Linked DNA regions of Homo sapiens: region 2 is linked to region 1. Evidence: promoter capture Hi-C in human tissues and cell types (Jung and others, 2019). All regions are on one chromosome and are shown on one strand. The core of a region is centred on a gene start or on the middle of the fragment in contact, and the rest is flanking DNA. Distances in the headings are between cores, read along the strand shown.

Region 1 (3,839 bases), core at 704-3,203:
CTCCCAGCACTCGGAGCTGAGCGTCCCCTCTCCCAGCACTCGGAGCTGAGCATTCCCCTCTCCCAGCACTCGGAGGCACCTGCAGTTGCTCAGCTGTTCATTGAGTGCTGGGAGTGGAAACTCATACGCTGAGCGGCAGTGACGCTGCGGAGCTGACAAACCCCACAGCCCGCCCGGTCACCTGCTTCACCGAGGGCCACAGCCCCCCCGGGGTCAGGTGGCCACAGGGGTCCTGGCCATGTGGGACATCTGTTCTGTGGCCCTGCTCAGGATGGCACCCGGCGGGGACTGGCCCTGGGGCCGAGGCATGGGCTCAGCCGCCGCCCTGCAGGGACGTAGCCAGGGACCTCTTCCCAGCAGAGGGACTCCCCCACTCATCCCCAGAATACTGAGGGGCACGCTGGGTGCCAGGCTGGCAGGGACCCTGGGGATTCTGCTGTGAGCTGGATGGGGAAGGAGTTCCTTCCTAAAATGTGGAGTCTGGAGGCCACTCTTGGTAAAGTGCTGGCCCCCGGGGATTCTGCAGTGAGCTGGGCATGGATTCTGCAGTGAGCTGGGCTTCACTCATGGTGAAACGCTGGGGTGACGGCAGACAGCCCAGAGCTTCTAGCAGCTCATTTCTGTGAAGCCTCCAGAATCCGGCCTCAGCCCCCAAACCCGCAGGCGTTGCGCCACCGTCACGGGGAAGGCGAGTGACAGCGAGTGTCCCCTATGCCCCCACAGCTCGCTCCCAGGCTGAGCTCTCCGGCCATCCCCCCCCTTCCCCATTGCAGCCATGCCACCCCTCCTTCTCCCCACCCAGGAACTGACAGAGGAGAGGGGCCCCGGATGGACAGGGACAGCAGGGCAGAATCCCAGCTCCCAGATCCAGGGGAGGGGGGATTGGGTGTGGGGACGGTGGTGCAAGGGGTGGTGCCAGGGGTGGAGGATGCATGGGGAGGGCTGGCCCCAAGAGTGCAGTGTTGGGGGAAGGGGGCCAGGTGGGCCTGGGACCCAGGGGCGTGGCTTCAATCCCCCTCCCACCAGGACCTTGGGAATGGCCTCCAGGAGCCTGTTGTGGGGAGGCCAGGGTCACCAGCTGAACCAACTCGACCAGAATCGCACAGCGGTGCCCGCTCCCCTACAGCAAGACGTCACCCAGGGGTCCCCACGGAGGAGGCAGGGAAGCTCGAGGGTCCCAGAGGAGCATGGAGCATGTGCCACACCACACCACACTACATTACACATGTGCACCATACATGTACATACAACAGACTCCCCACATCACATGCGCACACTCGCACACCATACATGCACACACACACACCACACTACGCTATGCCACACACGTGCACCATACATGCACACCATGCCACACTACACACACGACACTACACACCACGAACCACACCACACCATATCACACACCACACACTGCGAGTCGATCTGGAGATGGAATCGCTGTAGCCAGGCGGGGCAGCATGCAGACAGGAGGGCCTAACACAGGCAGGCGCAGCAGGTTCACAGAGGAGGCCCCGGGAACCTGCCTCCTGCCCAGCCCGGAGCACCAGGACCCCCCAGCCGTCCCCCTAGGGGCTTGTGGGCCCAGCCTCTTCCTGGCCTTGCCGGCCTCACAGCCCCTTGTCCTCCCATGCCGGCCCCATCCTCAGCCGCAAGCGCTCCCAGCACACCATGTGGCTCTGCTCTTGGTGGCAGGCACTTCCCCTTGCCGGGTCTCAAAGGGGACCCTGGAGCAGACGGTCTGGAGACCCCTTCCTGCCAGACACCCCTGGGCCGGGGCTATAAGCAGGGCCACCAGGGTCACTCCAGGCTGGGGCAGGAGAGTGCTTCCCTCCAAAAATCACCGTGGACATAGCGGGGCCTCTGCACACTCACCCTCGGTGTGCTGGAGTCCTCGGCGGTGCTCCTGGCTGGGCGTGGGGGCTTTGCTACCAGTCTGCCCTGGGTCACGTCTAGAAACCTCAGCTGGAGGCGCGGGTCGTAAAGTCCTGACACTTCCTGTTCCTCTCAGCTCCTCCTTGGAGGAAGTGGTGGGTTGCACCACCGTGGCCCTTCACCCCTGCCCCTCTCCGCTCTACAGCAGCTCTGATGTCAGAGAGCGGCCCCTTGAGACAGGTGGGACATGTCATTTCTCACATGAGGTCCCGGCGAGAAGGACCTGCTTCCATCAGATTCACACTTGGGAGAGGGGCCCGGCCTCCAGGAGCGCCAGGCAGAAAGGGCACCCATTAGGAAGAAGAACACAGAGGCCATGGGAGTGAAAAGTTTGATGCTGGAAAGCAACAGTAGCACATTCTGCTACAGAGCGGAATGAAAAACCCTGGGGAGCAAATTCCTGAGCCAGAGAATGGAGCGGAGGAACCAGCCAAGGAGGATAAAGAGGTGGGAACAGGCAAGAAAACCTGGGTGCGTGCACGCATTGACATCCACCTGCATGTGAGGGCGGGAGGGGACAGAACAGGGACAGCGAGGAGGAGACACTCAGGTCACAGGAGGAAGGCTGCGGATCTGGGCGGGGACGTGGATTGCGAGGCCACTGAACACCCCAGGGATGGATGGATGAGGTCCTGTTAACTAGGGACATTAGGAGGATACCACAGAACACGAAAGGGAAAATACTACAGGCTCAGAGAGAGAGAGAAGGGAGAGGAGGAGGAGGAGGAAGAGGAGGGAAAGAGATTATACCTAGAAAAAAAACCCAAATCAGACATCTTCAGAGCAAGGACTCAGACACATTACTACCCTAAACTCTGTTTTATTTATTTATTTATTTTTATGTTTTCAGTTTTTTTTGAGACAGAGTTTTGCTTTTGTCACCCAGGCTGGAGTGCAGTGGCGTGATCTCAGCTCACTGCAACCTCTGCCTCCCGGGTTCAAGCAATTCTCCTGCCTCAGCCTCCCAAGTAGCTGGGATTACAGGCACATGTACCACCACGCCTGGGTAATTTTTGTATTCTTAGTAGAGACAGGGTTTCACTATGTTGACCAGGCTGGTCTTGAACTCCTGGCTTCAAGTGATCCATCCACCTCTGCCTTCCAAAGTGCTGGGATTACTGGCGTGAGCCATGGCTCCCGGCTCCTAAACTCTGTTTTAAAGATGTCTTGCAGAAATAGACATGAAGAAATCCATGAGAAATACAAGAGCAGATGATACAAAGTTGGGCAAAGAAATAAGTAAAAATTATGATGTCATAACCTGTTGATTTAAAAAATAGTGGTAAGAATATTAACGCTGTGAAACAAAACGCCTAGAGGACTGGGTTGGGAGGGGCCAGGGAGCACATTGCCGTTCCATCCTATCTGGGGAGGAATATAGATGCTTGTCAGTGGGCATTTTGATAGAAAATATCTAAGTATATATGCTAACAATTCAAGAGTCTCCTTAAGAATAAAAATAGCATGTATATACCTGAAAAAAAATATGACAAATCTTTATTTTGGGCATGGTGGCTCAAACTTGTAATCCCAGCACTTTGGGAGGCCGAGGTGGGAGGATCACTTGAGCCCAGGAGTTCGAGACCAGCCTAGGCAACATTTGGAGACCCAGACCCTCATCTCTACAAAAAAATTTTCTAAGAATTCGCCAGGCATGGTAGCACGCGATATGGTCCAGGCTACTTGGGAGGCTGAGGTGGGAGAATTGCTTGAGCCCAAGAGGTTGAGGCTACGGTGAACCATGCTTACACCACTGCACTCCAGTCTGGGTAACTGAGAAAAAAAAAAAAAAAAAAAGGCAAATCCTTTAAAAGAAAAAAGTAAGGGAAAATAGAACAAACAAGAAAGGTAAATAAAAACCAAACAATAAAACATTGGGAATAATTTCAAACCCATCAGGAATC
Region 2 (3,839 bases), core at 313-2,812, 69 kb before region 1:
GCTTTCCCTGCCACGAAGCGCTTGGTCTGCTTACTAAAGCCACGTATCCTGATTTTACAGAAACGTGGGCAGGTCCAGCAGTGCCACTGGAGAGCTCCCAGAGAAGCCCACTCAGAAGGAAGTGGTCAGACCACCCTCGAGCCAGAGCGGCTGGAAGCTGGACTGGTCCCATGAGGCAGAAGGAGCACCAGCGCCTGCTGGGTGGTGTGGGGAGAGCCCTCAGCTGACTCTGGACACACCTGCTTCCGGGGCACGTGGCCCAGAGCCGGGCCTGTGGACGGGCCTTTCTTTCTTCTTGGGGTGGACCCCGTCCCCACGATCCCTAAATGGCCACCCCCCAGACAGCCCAACAGGCAGCGAGAGGCCTGCAGGCACTGAGGATGCCAACAGGGCTGGAGAGAGCTGCAGCGTCCTGCCCCGTCCTCCCCACACCGCTGGCACACGAGCAGTCAACTGGTGCTGCTGAGGCAGGCCAAACACCACATTTATAATTCAAGCTTCCAAGGGAAAAAGATTCTCATGTTCTAGTAAAGATACAAATTTTAAAAATTGTCCAAAAAGGGCCTGAATTTTTATATGAAGGTTTTCTGGTGAAATCTTTTAAGCAGGGAGGAAAATCCAATAAATTTTTTTAAAAAGGTTTAGCTATTCCCCAATGCTATTTAATACAATTGAGGTTAGGACGTTAAGTCCTTATCAGACTGTGTACTGGAGCCCCGTGTCATCAGCAAAAGCCGTGTGAGTCAACAGGTGTGAAGACTCAAGATGCGCACACAGACGCTGTCCGTGGTTTTATGGGGAATGATGAGGGCTGGTCAGTTCTCCTCATGACAAAAGTCAAACCGACTTCCCTGTGTTGCGTGTGAAGCTTGTTAGTGGACAGAGAGAAACGCAGGGTTCTGCCCTGGGAGAATGACAGCCACAGCGCTGGGTGCCGTCAGGCGGCTTCGTGTGCAGTTAGCGTTTCACAAACTGAGAAGAGTATAAAAAAGCCCAAACCCCAAAGATTTCTTATTTCAAGTGACTAAATCTAGAAACAGAGATGAACAGGGAATAGAAGGTCACCAGTCTGCAAGACGAGAGGACTGTCCTTCAGGGGCAGCTCTCCGGCCGCCTGTCCTGGAAGGCTGGCAGGTTCACTGGCCAAGGTCAGGAGACCGCAATGGCCACGTGGTCTCCCGGCTGGGCTGGGCTGCGGAGCGTGCACCTCACAGGAAGCGTCGGGACTGATGTGCTGGAGCGCTTTAGTTGTTTTCAAATCTAGCATACGGGTTTTCTTCTTTAAACAGGCCTGAAACAAAATAAACTTGAATCATAACTTCATTCATTCAACCAGAAACAAAATCTTAGAAAGCCATACAAACCAAGCTTTATAAGAAGATTTACTGAGGCTATAGCAACAACGGGCATTGTAAGCAGGCTCTCATACAGTGCTTAACCTTTTTTGAAGTCAAACCACTTTAAACTTTAAAACTGAAATAAAATTTACTAGAAACAAGAACTCTAACAGATCCTAAGAGATAAGCACTTACTTCCTGATGCTCGGCGAAGAAAAGAAATTTAAGGCAAGTATTTCTTTCCACAGTGGTTGGCTAGTTCCACAGTGGATGGCTACTATTAAACAAAATAACCTTACTTTGTGCTTATAGCTGCTCTTAAACCTTTGGAATTAAGGCTACAGAAAGAACTAAGATGACCATCAATCTAACTCTCGAGTACTCTGACAAAACTGGGATAAAATGTGTATTTAATCATAAGAGTAAACCTGTGCTACTTACCCAAAGACCAGGAGTTTTCCCTTCACACTGCAGAAACACACACACATACACACACTCTCTCTCCCTTTATTTTTTATTTTTTTTTGAGACAGAGTTTTGCTCTTGTTGCCCAGGATAGAGTGCAATGGCGCAGTCTCGGCTCACTGCAATCTCCGCCTCCTGGGTTCAAGGAATTCTCCTGCCTCAGCCTCCGGGTAGCTAGGACTGCAGGCACCCACCACCATACTTGGCTAATTTTTGTATTTTTAGTAGAGACGGGGTTTCACCATGTTGGTCAGGCTGGTCTCGAACTCCCAACCTCAGGTGATCCACCACCTTGGTCTCCCAAAGTGTTGGGATTACAGGCGTGAGCCACCGTGCCTGGCCTCTCTCTCCCTTTAACAATCTGTATTGTACACTAAAATTATCTGCAGCGATTACAACAAAGCTACTCACTGCATGTATTCTGGGGGCTGGGTGGAAGAGGCGGCGGGGAAGCAGAGGGATGGTAAGGAAGGGCCTAGCCATGTTTCTTTCTTGCCTGTCAAGGAGGGCCACAGGCATCAGGCTTTGGGAGTGAGGCTCAAAGTCGGTTTTGGGAAAGAGTCATCAGATACTAGCAAGGAGGCTGGTTAAGTTCTTATTGAAAAACTCGCTCCTGAGTCTACTTCCAGTTTAGAGGGAAAACCAAAACCAAAAGAAGGGTTTTTGCGTGCGTGCTGGTATTTTATATAACTGCACCAGGTGGACTCACATGCTTTCTCGCACTCTCCCATCAGGAATTCCTAGGAATTCTTCTAACTAGCCGAGGCTTTCCAAAGCACAGGCCATTCAATGGCTTTATTACAAACTGGCACAAAAAGCTCATTTCATCAATGCAATTAAAGGGCCAAATTAACCACCAAAATGGCAAGTGCAAGTCAATCAGGGCCCTGACACAGAAGACACCACTCCAAGAGCCTGGCCGGCCACCCACAGCCTCACACCCGCTGGGAGTCAGGGCACAGTAAAGGTCGAGCAACTTAAACACAGCTTGTGCTTGGTGATAACAGGTGCTGGGCAGTGTGTGCGTGTGTGCGCGTGTGCGTGTGTGTGTATCCACCTTGTCTTTTATTTACATTAACATTAGTCTGGCTGGGTGTGGTGGCTCATGCCTATAATCCCAGCACTCTGGGAGGCCGAGGCGGGCGGATCACGAGGTCAGGAGATTGAGACCATCCTGGCTAACACAGTGAAACCCCATCTCTACTAAAAAATACAAAAAATTAGCTGGGCGTAGTGGTGGGCACCTGTAGTCCCAGCTACTCAGGAGGCTGAGGCAGAAGAATGGTGTGAACCTGGGAGGCAGAGCTTGCAGTGAGCTGACATCGCGCCACTGCACTCCAGCCTGGGCGACAAGGTGAGACTCCGTCTCAAAAAAAAAAAAAAAAAAAAATTAGGTGCCAAAAAGCTCTTGACTCTTCCATTTCAAGGAAAGCACAATGCCTCCAGCCAAGGCCTGCAGAGATGCTGCTGGGCCCACGCTCCACGTACACAGGCATGCACTCGCTGAGGAGGGCAACCCTGGTGCTGCTCCTTATGACAGTCACACGCAGGTACCCGGTCACCACCCACTCCAGACACACACCGGGAAACAACAGGCGACAGAGAGGGTGGGGCAAGGACAAGGCAGCAGTGAAGAGAACCCAGAGAGTCAGCGCCCAAGCACACGGCACTCAGGAGACTGATGGGCGGGAACACATAGGAAAAAGCCTCTATCAGCCACTGGGCATCTCGAGGCCAGCAGCCAAGGCAGCCTCACGCCCCCAAGCCGACACTTCGAGACCGGCAGGACTCACGTGGCCTCAGGTCACAGCACAGTCACATGGAGGTGACTTTCCAAGGAGGCCAGAACTGACAGGGAGGGGACGTCCCGGCCAGTGGGCAGAGCCACCCAGCGTTTACAGTCCAGGGCACCAGCAGCATGGGGCCTCTGCAGCCCCCATGAGAGGGAACCCAACGCCAATCACCTGCACCTGACGGAGGCGCCGCTCACAGTGGCTGCTGGGCTTTGCCGTCCACCCCCCACCCGATGACCGAGAA

What was found. Contacts are between HindIII fragments. The study calls those that stand out against the background at their distance.
Region 2: a contact is called between a fragment that was not itself captured here and the fragment with the promoter of ITGB2 in region 1, in 5 of the 25 tissues and cell types used here (dorsolateral prefrontal cortex, lymphoblastoid cells, mesenchymal stem cells and 2 more).

Annotation. Positions count from the first base shown.
Region 1 is chr21:44,918,946-44,922,784 of GRCh38, forward strand. It overlaps ITGB2 (integrin subunit beta 2), which reads right to left and starts at 1,954. Exons shown (of 16, transcript NM_000211.5): 1 at 1,876-1,954. It overlaps ITGB2-AS1 (ITGB2 antisense RNA 1), which reads left to right and starts at 2,090. Exons shown (of 3, transcript NR_038316.1): 1 at 2,090-2,382. RefSeq lists a silencer at 545-604. The HindIII fragment of the contact is 46,650 bases long and covers 1-3,839 here.
Region 2 is chr21:44,850,337-44,854,175 of GRCh38, forward strand. PTTG1IP (PTTG1 interacting protein) reads right to left here. Exons shown (of 6, transcript NM_004339.4): 6 at 1-1,291. The coding sequence ends at 1,245. Among named protein-coding and RNA genes, the nearest start is that of PTTG1IP, 21 kb to the right of the region's middle. The HindIII fragment of the contact is 3,314 bases long and covers 1-3,219 here.